Linked DNA regions of Homo sapiens: regions 1 and 3 are each linked to region 2. The links are contacts of gene promoters, found by promoter capture Hi-C in blood cells and fetal thymus (Javierre and others, 2016). All regions are on one chromosome and are shown on one strand. The core of a region is centred on a gene start or on the middle of the fragment in contact, and the rest is flanking DNA. Distances in the headings are between cores, read along the strand shown.

Region 1 (3,301 bases), core at 802-3,301, 130 kb after region 2:
GACCTCGTGATCCGTCCGTGTCGGCCTCCCAAAGTGCTGGGATTACAGGCGTGAGCCACCACACCTGGCTTATTCCAGCTTTTTAAAATGTTATTTATTTATTTATTTATTTTTCTGAAAACACTATGGTGATGGATCCAGCTTATTTTAAAAAGCTTTGTTTCCAAAAACAAAAGCTGGCCTCACCGTGTCCACACTGGTTTTTGCTTGCTTCTGTTGTGAACTGTCTCCTACCTGTGTCAGTAAATAATTTTCCACGAGATTTTACAACTGCCTACTGGTCCATGATACGTGTCATCATTGACTTAGCTGGCTCCCTGTTCCTGGGTGTTACGGCTGTTTTTGTTTTCATTGTTATAAATAGGGCAGCGAAGAGTATTTTTCTGCACATCTCTATTTCCCCTGGAAAATTCTATAAGTAGTACCCCTGGGTCACAGGGTCACAGTTAGCAGGTACAGCCAGAAAGCCTTCTTGAGGGATGTGCCCCCTACCAGCAGAGCATGAGGGGGGCACATGGATTGAAGTTTGTCATGTAGCAATATCAACCTGGTCCCATTGAATGGCTAAAACTCTCTGCAGCCAGTCCCAGTTGGCCCCCAGGGATGGGGCTGCCCAGCCCCAGTAACTGTGAGCAGGACTCTGTGTGCCCATGCAAGCTGGGAGTACAGCAGGCACCCTTTGCCTGCTGGCGTGGCACCCCCACCAGCCCCCCTGCTCAGCAACCACCCTGGCTTGTGACCCTTCATACTACTGGAGTTTCCAAGAATGGCATTTGTCCCAGAGGGTGGTTGTCACCAAGCACTGTGAATGAACAACAGAAATTGCTTGGGTCGTGAGTATGGGCCATTGGACACAGCCTTTGAGTGGGCAGGCAGGCATCCCCAGTCCAGTGCCAGCAGGGCAGCCAGGAGCCCCAGTTCAGTGGCTGGTGCCAGGCCTGTGGGCCAGCTCTGGGCTGACACAGCTGGTCTACTGTCATATCTCTAATTTGATCCCATCCCTCATCCCACGCTATCTGTGGCCTGGTGTCATCCTATGAGCGAATGGAGGACCAGCATCCCTGACCCTGGGATACTGGCAGTGATGGGGACAGGTGAATGACCCATGGGACTTTGAACTTTCCCTTGTAGGCAGTGGGTGGTGCCTTGCTGGGTGCCATGCATAGCAGGAATGGCCAAGAAGTCTAGGGAGGACTTGACCCTGGCCACACTACATAGCCTTTGGCCAGTCATTTTGTGGTTTCCATTTTCCTGTCTATGAAATGAGCCACTGAGGACTTTGGGGCCCGTGAGACAGATGCTGAGGATCTTGCTGGCCAAGCTGTAGGGCTGGGACCCTCAAGGGGTCTGTGAAAGGGCTGGGGCCACTGGGCTGGGGGTCGATCAGCTGGAGTGATGGAGGGAGTTGGGCTTTCTGGGCTCTCTGGGGAAGCAGGTGCTGGGGCGCATGGGATCATAGGTGGCACAACTGGGTGGGCCTGCGGGAAGCAGGAAGTGAAGGTGCCTCCCTCCCTCACCTCTCCTGCTGTAGGTTGGCTTCCTGAAGATCCTGCACAGGTATGAGATTACCTTCACTCTGCCCCCAGTGCACAGGCTGAGCAAGGATGTCCGCGAGGCACCTGTCCCCAGCCTGCACCTCAAGCTCCTCAGCGTGGTGCCCGTCCCTGAAGGTGCGTCCCCTCCTCCAGCAGGGCCTGGATGGGTGTGGGAGTGAGAACATGGGGTGCTCCCTTACTTCCAACTAGGGTGGATGGGCAGCTCAGCAAGTCGGGGATGTGGCACCTCTTTGTGAGCTTGCACTGTGGCAGCATGGCAGGTCCCACACTCCAGGCCTTGCTCCCTGTCCTGAACAGAAGTCCATGAGCTCATACTTCCCTGTACCTGCCCATGGTGTGATGGTTACCTCCGTGGGGCAGTAACCAAGATGGGAGCTGCTGAGGAACTGGTTTGAAGCCTCCAGCCTTCCCTCCTGCCTCCCTAACCCTCTAGAAAAACCTGCTGGAGCTACACACACCGTGTGGATAACTCCTAGCACCCACCAGTCCCAGACCTTGGGTTTCAGGCTGCTGTTCCTATCAGGCTCACTTCAGGCCCTGCCCCATGCCCCACTCCCAGCCTGGCAGAGGCTAGGGTGTCAGTTTCGTGGAGCTCCAGCTTCAGTTTCATGTCCCCGTCACCAGCCTCTTCATGACCTTGCCCTTCAATGGATTGACACCCCTCAGGCCTTTACCTCTTGCCATCGGATCTGCTCAAAGCCTACCCTGCCCTGCCCCCCTCACTCCTCATCACCGCCTCTCCCTGCCTTCCTTTTGGGAGAAAACAGCCAGACCTTCTTTTGGAAGCCTGAATTGGACCCTACTTCATTCACTCTTGGAGCCACATTGGGGTGGCCCACAGGCTGGAGGCATGTCCAGCTCACTGAAGAATGGGTTTTTGAGACCTGTGCACCCCTGCTAGGGGGAATGGGTCTCTGGGCTCCAGAAGGGCCATCCCTGCCCCTTTCTTGGGGGGGCTTAGCATGCAGTCCCCCCATGGTGGTGGGTAGGGGCCCGTGAGTGCCAGGGGCAGGATCGGGGAGGCTGGGGGAGGTGCTGACCAATTGCCCCTGTCCCCGGGCAGGTTATAGTGTCAAGTGTGAGTACTCGGCGCACAAAGAGGGCGTCCTCAAAGAGGAGATACTGCTAGCCTGCGAAGGTGGCACTGGCACCTGTGTGCGCGTGACGGTGCAGGCCCGCGTCATGGGTGAGAGCGTGAGGCTCCTGGTTGGAGGAGGGATGCACAAGCTCGACTGCGAGGGTTTCTGTCCTCCTCAGGGAACCAAGGCTGAACAAGGGATCCTTGCCCGGCTCAGGGGTTCTCAACCTCCTTGGCAGGTCCCTACCTCCAGCTGATCCCTGAGGGAAGGGGAGGGGTCCCCTTAGTGGGCCGCATGGGTGGGGCCGGGGGCCAGCATGGCACTGACTTGCACCCTGCCTTGCAGACCGGCACCACGGCACGCCCATGCTGCTGGATGGTGTCAAGTGTGTGGGCGCCGAGCTGGAATACGACTCAGAGCACAGCGACTGGCACGGCTTTGACTGAGGCCCGAGGCCCCGCCTGCCCCGGGCCCCTCAGCCTTAAACCCCGCCTTGTCCCCCCGACATGCTGCGTGATGGTGTGGCTTCCTCGCCCCTCTCTGGGGTGGGTGTGGGGGTGGAGTGGCCTTGCCCACGCCTCTCACCTCTGCCTTCATTTGTGCTGCCACCCTGCCCCTCCCTCGTCCTCCTCTCCCACTTCCTCCTCTCTGTGTGCCTCAGTCTCC
Region 2 (3,703 bases), core at 1,168-3,667:
AATTCTCCCCACCCAGTGTAAACCGGTTTTTCTGAGTGTGGTCTTTGAGTCACCTGTATTTGAATATGAGGAGCTTAACTGGGCCCACTGAATCTGCACTTTTACCAGGTCATTCTCATGCTCAATATTTGGAAGTACTTCCACAGTATCTAAAAATTTTCGCCTCAAGTAAGTCAGTCTTGAACACAAAAGATCAAACTTATGCTTGGTCTTAGAGCAATGAAGAAATAACTAACAGAACGTAAATAATTCAGAAAAACACAGTGGTCCACCGCAAAAGCTATGAAGCTAGCAATTCTGAGTTTACATTTCTATTTCACAACGCACTAGCCATTTGACCGGGCAAACGTGTCCCAGTTTTCTCATCTGTAAAATGGAATACTACCACCTACCTCAGAGCCACGAGGCTAATGAGTTACCAAAGCTCTTAGTAGACGACTGCCAGGTCGGGCACAATGGCTCCCGTCTATATCCCAGCACTTTGGGAGGCCGAAGTGGGAAGATCGCTTGAGACCAGGAGGAATTCAAGACCAGCCTGGGCAACATAAGAGATCCCATCTCTATTTAAAAAAATAAAAATTGAAAAATTAGCCTGGCATAGTGGCACGTGCCTTTAGTCCCAGCAATGCAGGAGGTTGAAGCAGGAGGATGGCTTGAGCCCAGGAGGTTAAGGCCACAATGAGCCATGATCATGCCACTGCACTTCAGCCTGGGCAACAGAACAAGACGCTGTCTCAAAGTAAAAAACAAAAAACAAACCAAAAAAACCCTTGTGGCTAATGGCTATACTCTTATTTGCTGAATCTTTGGAATTTACATCCATTTCCAACGATGTAATACAAAACCATGAAGGATCTCATATTTTGCATTGCTTCAAACTCAGGTGCTTCTCAAATAAAACAAAACTAGGTGACTGACTCTGAAAATGGCACAGGTTAAGAATCTGTTTTCCAAATCTGTTGCAAGAAGATGGAAAAAGACAAAAGAACTGAAAACTCCCAAACTTTTCACAGCAAAATAGAACTACATTTAATCATCCATATCAGAGAAGATTCAAAAAAGCAGTTGGGTGACTGGGCTAAGGTAGAAGACTATTCAATAAAAATCTCACATCTTGCCATTTTCCCTCCCTCTCACAATCTGCATTTAAACAAGTCAATTTCCTGAAATAGGAATCTGGCAACACCCACCAAAAAGTCCAACCATATGTAAAATGGCATCACACTGTAAAGCTCATATTACAGTATCAGGACAATTGATACTTTCAACAGCAGCAATGGCTGCCAGGCAGCGGTCCTGAATTGAAGACTTGTAAAGGGGAGAAAATACACAACACAGAAAAAGAAACCTAATAAAATGGGGAAACGGATTCTCTGGGAGGAGCGTATGCAACTCCCAAGGCAAAATTCAGAAAGATGTTGTTTCCCCTCAAAACAAAGAGCCTTAATGCCCAGAATGCCACAGTTCTGAATCGTGAGTACCTGCAAATAGACAGAAGGAAAACGGAGGGGATATGTGGGTGAGAGATGACCTGGATTCTCACGAGAAGAAGGGCAGCCACCTTAGAGGTGCACGGAATACAGTTTCAGGCCTGGTGCAACTCAAGGGGCAGTTCACCATTTTCCAGTAAGCCCGAAATTGACGAATAAAAGGGACTTAAAGTATTAGAGAGCAGCTCTTTGGAAACCCACGGAAAACAAACATTGGGGATTCAAAGGATTTGGGAGGAAAGGAGGTGGAAATGAGTCAAAAGAAGCCTTCTCGAGGATAAAATCATGTGACCCTCAGGAAGAGAATGCCCAAGGAGCTAAGAAAAGGGAGGACAGGTCCTGGGGAAAAGCCCTCCACTCCAACAAGCGGGAAGTGCATACCAATGGGTGCGGGGGGGCCCCCGAAGGTACCGCTTTCGGAGCACCCGAGGCCTCCAGCCGGATGTCAGGCCACGCACCAACGAGGGACCACCGTGCGGGGACAGTGTCCGCGCGCGGGAAAAACGGCGGCGGGGCCGGAAGGGGACAGGGTGGGCCGGAAGGGGGGGCAGGGCGGGCCGGGAGGGCGCCCCACGGAACACTTACGCGGCCGCTTTTTCCTCAGGCTTTCGACGCGCTGGCGGGAGACCGAGGTGGGGCCGCTGTAAGAGCCCAGTCGATCCCGCCTCGTGCCCTCAGCCGAGGCCCCGACCGCGGGCACCGACGCGCTGCTCGCCCGGCGCCGCAGTGGCTCCTGCCGCCGCCCTTCGGGGTCCCCGGCCGCCTGCTCCCCAGCCGACGAGACGGAGGTGGCGGAAGCCCTGCCGTGGCGCTCCATGGGCGCGCCGAGCCGGCCCCCTCCCATCCGCAGCAGCAGTCGCTGCCGCCCGAGCAAGCCCCCCAGCGTCGGATTCCTTCTCGCCTCCTCCGCGGCAGTCCAGCCAGAGCAGAGGCGCGCCCTCGGCCGGCCGCCTCTTCCGTTGCGCCAACGCGCAGGAAGCCAATCCGACGAGGCTGGGGACGGCCCAAAGGCCTCGCGTCCAGTCGGCTCCCTAACTCGAGGAGGATTGACCGTGCCTCCGTCCAATGAGAGGCTATCGTGACGGGGCGGGGAGAGGGTGGTGGAGGAGGGGATCCGGGTTCCGCGGAGGAAGAGAAGGCGGTGTAGCCCAGAAGAGAGTGATGGCGGCGCCGCCCAATGGACGCGTGGGTGGAAGGGCCCGAGCCTCCTCATCCACCCCCTCCTTCCGCCCCCCACTTGTGCATGCCTCTGCCCCCCCGGGCCGCGGAACTCTCCTGGGGCGACCCCGAGTCCCACCCCGCTGCTCCGTGCCGTCCTCGCAGCTCGAGCCCTCCTCCAGCCCAGCAGTGCTCCCGCAGCGTCTGGCCGCTGGTCGTCGGCAGACGAAAGGGCTTGAACCGCGGCTGACCTTAGCCTTTGTCCCTCGGCCTAGTTCCGCAGCTGCCGTCGAGGCCGCCAGCCCCTCCCCCAGCATGTTTGGGCTAAGCCGCCTCCTTTCCGCCTGCGTTGGAGAGAGAGGTACCAGAAGGAATGAAAGGACTGGGGCTTGTCTCCATGGCAACTGAAAGAAAGAGGTGGGTTATAAATCCTTCGCCACCCTCCTGTGGCGAAGGAGGGGAAGTGGGAGCCGGGAAGTAGAGTTGGCCTTTTGCAGGAGAGTCTGGAGCCCCTTTCTGGGTGATGCATTGGGGGCCATAGAAGGATTTGGCTGCCGCTTTGGAGCATGGATTTTTTTTTTAATCATCTTCCTTTCTCTTTTGGAGAGAAAAATTGGTCACCTCCAGGACTGAGACCCTGACCCTTCCAAGCATCCCCACTACCAAAGGCTGCCCAAGCCCGGAAGGATCCCATCCCGTTCTGTACTCTGAGGTCACTTCCTCACTCCGTCAAATTTCACTGGACTGTGGGCTAATTAAAAGTGCCTCCGTATTAGCGGGGCGTGGTGGCCCATGCCTATAATCCCAGCTACTTGGGAAGCTGAGGCAGGAAAATTGCTTGAACCCGGGTGGCGGAGGCTGCAGTGACCCAACATTGTGCAACAAGAGCGAAACTCCGTCTCAAAAAAAATAAAAAATAAAAAAGAGTGCCTCCCTGGGGAGACTGTAATGCCCACTGGGCAGTGATCCTAATGCCCCTTGGGCAGTGATCCTTATTCCCCTCTCCCATAATGATTGGTTGTAGCAGGCTGAACAAAAAGGTTGAGCTTCGCTTG
Region 3 (3,417 bases), core at 69-2,568, 200 kb before region 2:
CATCCTGGGGCCTGGCTACATGGTGGTGATGGCCACAGTGTCCCCCAGATGTTCCAGCAGCATGGTTTTCATCGTGGTCTTGGCTATCCAGCTGCTACCTTTGGTGCCTGCGTGATTTCTGGGTCCAGTCTTCAAGATATTCTGTGAGCTAATCAATACCCTTCCATTAGGTTTTTTGTTTTTTTGTGTTTTTTTTTGCCATAATCAGAGCCTGTTTCTTCTGCTTGCAACTGCGAATGGACTAATACAGAGTCTTTGAAGGGTATGGGCAGGGAGAAATGATGGGACCTGGCTTGTACTTTGAAGAAGTCCTATAGGCTGCTATGTGGCCACGATAGTAGAGCACAGCTACAGCAAATGTGAGTAGACCAGGTAGACAAGTTCCTTGGACTGGGGTGGTGGCAATAGGAAAAGTTGAATGGCGTTTTGGGGGGTGAAAATCAAATTGGCTTGGTGAGGTAACGGATGTCGGAGAAGTGGGAGGAAGGACTCAGGATGTCACCCAGGTTTCTGTCTTTCACAAGTGGGTGTTGCGTTAGATTGATTGCAAAAATGGCCGCAATTCTCCACCCCTCCCTTTGCAATATGATTTAGTAACATCTCTCATCAAGAAGCAGAACTTTGCCAGGTGCTGTGGCTCACATCTGTAGTCCCAGCTACTCGGGAGGCTGAGCTGCGAGGACTGCTTGAGCCCAGGAGTTCGAGGCTGTAGTGAGCTATGATTACGCCACCGCACTCCAGTCTGGGTGACAGAGCAAGACCCTGTCTCTAAAGCAAACAAACAAAAGAATCAGAACTTTTTCCCAAACTCTTTCAAGTGAGGCTTGGCTTTGAGAGTTGTTTGACCAAAAGAGTTTGGCAGAAGTGACAGTCTGTCAGTTCCAAGTAAAGACCTTATAAGATCTTGCATGTTTTCATTTGTTTTCCTGAAACCCTGCAATCACTATGTGACTAAGCCTAGACTAGCCTGCTGCATGGCCACGCTATACCAGCCAGCTTCCAGCCAACCCAGCATCTGATTGCAAAAGCCTAGAGAAATAATAAATGGTTAATGCATTAAGCCAGTAAGTTCTGGGGTGGTTTGTTATCCAGCAAGGGCAAACTGATATATATATATATATATATATATACACACACACACACACACACACACATATATATACACATATATATACACACATATATATACATATATATACACACATATATATACATATATATACACATATATATACACATATATATACATATATACACATATATACATATATACACACATATATACATATATACACACACATATATATACACATATATATACATATATATACACATATATATACACATATATATACACATATATATATACACACACACACACAAACACACACCTCCCTATATATATAAAACCATCAGATATATATATGTGTGTGTATATATGTATATGTATGTATGTATATAACATATGTCAGGTATAACATATCAGGTATGTGTGTGTATATATATATACACATATATATATATACACACACAGACACACACCATGGTGTGTGTGTATATATGTATATACATATATATATATGTCCATCCACATCCCAACCAAGCCCACCACCCTCTAGACTTTCAAGGGCTCCTGACTACCTGGACTTTCCACTGTTCTCCTTGGCCCATGAAATTGGATGTCCCTGTCCCAAGGCTGTCTGCAGTACACTCGAACTTGCTCTGCCCTTGAACTTGCTCTTGGGCATATCAGCTGCCCCTTAGGCCAGACCCTGGGCTTTCTGTATCTCAGAAATCTGCTTTTATCCCTGGACCCCACATTAGTCCCTGTTCCTGGCCTTTGGGATTTGCCGTGGTTGTGGTTGGGCCCTCCAACTGGGTGAGGGCCCAACTGCTCACTCCCAGGAGACCAGTACCCACATCCCAGCACAGAGCAGGTGAGAGCTCCCACACTCCTTTTTACCCACTCTCACGGCCTTACTGTGTGCCCTTCTGTAGCTTCTGTGACCCATTGATCTTCCTACAACCTCCCTGGCAGGATCTCTTTGCTCCTCTCCATCCCATATTCAATACCGGGTCCCTGTGGAGCGCCAGGCTCTATACTAAGGACCCTGTGTGGGTCCCCCAAGGGCAGAAACCATCTTTCCCCATCAACTCAAAGTCTCCTAGGCATAAAGGCTGGGGGTGGAGGGCTGAGGACTGACCCAGGACCTCTATTTTGCCTCCTGTAAATAAAGATATCTCAAAATACAGTAAGAAGACCAACTAAGTGGGTGAAACTCCACCAACTGACAGATAATTGTCACATCTTAACTATACATCTTTCCTCGGCAGGCAAGACACATCTAGGCCTGGTGAAGACAGAAACGCTAGTCCCCCCCCTTATTTGCAGGGGATACATTCAAGACCCCCAGTGGATGCCTGAAACCGCAGATAGTACCAAACCCTATACATACTATGGATTTTTCTATATGTACATATCCACCATAAAGTATAATGCATAAATTAAGCACAGTTAAGAGGTTAACAATAATAACTGATAATAAAATAGAACAATTATAACAACTGTTCTATTTTATTCTCAGTTATTATTGTTAATAATAATTATGTTGTGATGATGTTAAGCATCACCACTTTTGCATCCAGGGGTCGTTATTAAATGAAGTAAGGGTTACCTGAACATAAGCACTGCGATACCTCAGCAGTTGATCTGACAGCCAAGACAGCTACCAAGTGACTAATGAGCGGGAAGAATATGCAGCATGGACGTGCTGGACAGAGGGATGATTCACTCTACTCAGCATGGCAGGCAATTTAAAATGGGAGTTGCTCATTTTGTTTTTTGGTTTTCTTTTTCTTTTTCTTTTTCTTTTTTTTTTTTTTTTTGAGACTGAGTCTCACTCTGTCACCCAGGCTGGAGTGCAAGGGTGCAATCTTGGCTCACTGCAACCTCTGCCTTCCAGGTTCAAGCGATTCTCCTGCCTCAGCCTCCCAAGTAGCTGGGACTACAGGCACACACCACCATGCCCAGCTAATTTTTGTATTTTAGTAGAGAAGGGGTTTCACAATGTTGGCCAGGCTAGTCTCAAACTCCTGACCTCAAGTGATCTGCCCGTCCCAGCCTACCAAAGTACTGGGATTACAGGTGTGAGCCACCCCATCTGGCCAAAACATGAATTATTTATTTCTGGAATTTTTCCATTCAATATTTTCAATCTGTGATTGACAGCATCTAACTGAAACCGCAGAATGCAAAATTGCCAATAAGGTGGGGGACTATTGTAATTTTCTTTTTCTTTTGTGAACCACTCCCTCCCAGGGCCAAAAAGAGTCAGATCCTCTGCAGCAGGGGTCTCCAGCTCCCGCAGTACTGATCCATGGCCTGTTAGAAACTGGGCCACACAGCAGGATGTGAGC

What was found. Contacts are between HindIII fragments. The CHiCAGO score rates a contact against its expected background, and 5 or more counts as called.
Region 1: a fragment that was not itself captured here is called in contact with the fragment with the promoter of PANK2 in region 2 in 1 of 17 cell types (erythroblasts); the score reaches 5.6 in erythroblasts.
Region 3: a contact is called between a fragment that was not itself captured here and the fragment with the promoter of PANK2 in region 2, in 15 of 17 cell types (naive CD8 T cells, megakaryocytes, erythroblasts and 12 more). The highest score is 9.6, in naive CD8 T cells.

The regions. Positions count from the first base shown.
Region 1 is chr20:3,753,838-3,757,138 of GRCh38, reverse strand. It overlaps ADISSP (adipose secreted signaling protein), which reads left to right. Exons shown (of 6, transcript NM_001258429.2): 4 at 1,532-1,670; 5 at 2,620-2,742; 6 at 2,981-3,301. The coding sequence ends at 3,081. Among named protein-coding and RNA genes, the nearest start is that of ADISSP, 12 kb to the left of the region's middle. The HindIII fragment of the contact is 3,788 bases long and covers 158-3,301 here.
Region 2 is chr20:3,888,101-3,891,803 of GRCh38, reverse strand. PANK2 (pantothenate kinase 2) reads right to left here and starts at 2,417. Exons shown (of 7, transcript NM_001386393.1): 1 at 2,076-2,417. The coding sequence starts at 2,373. PANK2-AS1 (PANK2 antisense RNA 1) reads left to right here and starts at 2,631. Exons shown (of 2, transcript XR_001754478.3): 1 at 2,631-3,065; 2 at 3,255-3,703. RefSeq lists silencers at 2,033-2,532, 2,723-2,782 and an enhancer at 2,791-3,342. The HindIII fragment of the contact is 15,092 bases long and covers 1-3,703 here.
Region 3 is chr20:4,087,475-4,090,891 of GRCh38, reverse strand. No RefSeq gene overlaps it. Among named protein-coding and RNA genes, the nearest start is that of SMOX, 60 kb to the left of the region's middle. The HindIII fragment of the contact is 6,501 bases long and covers 1-3,417 here.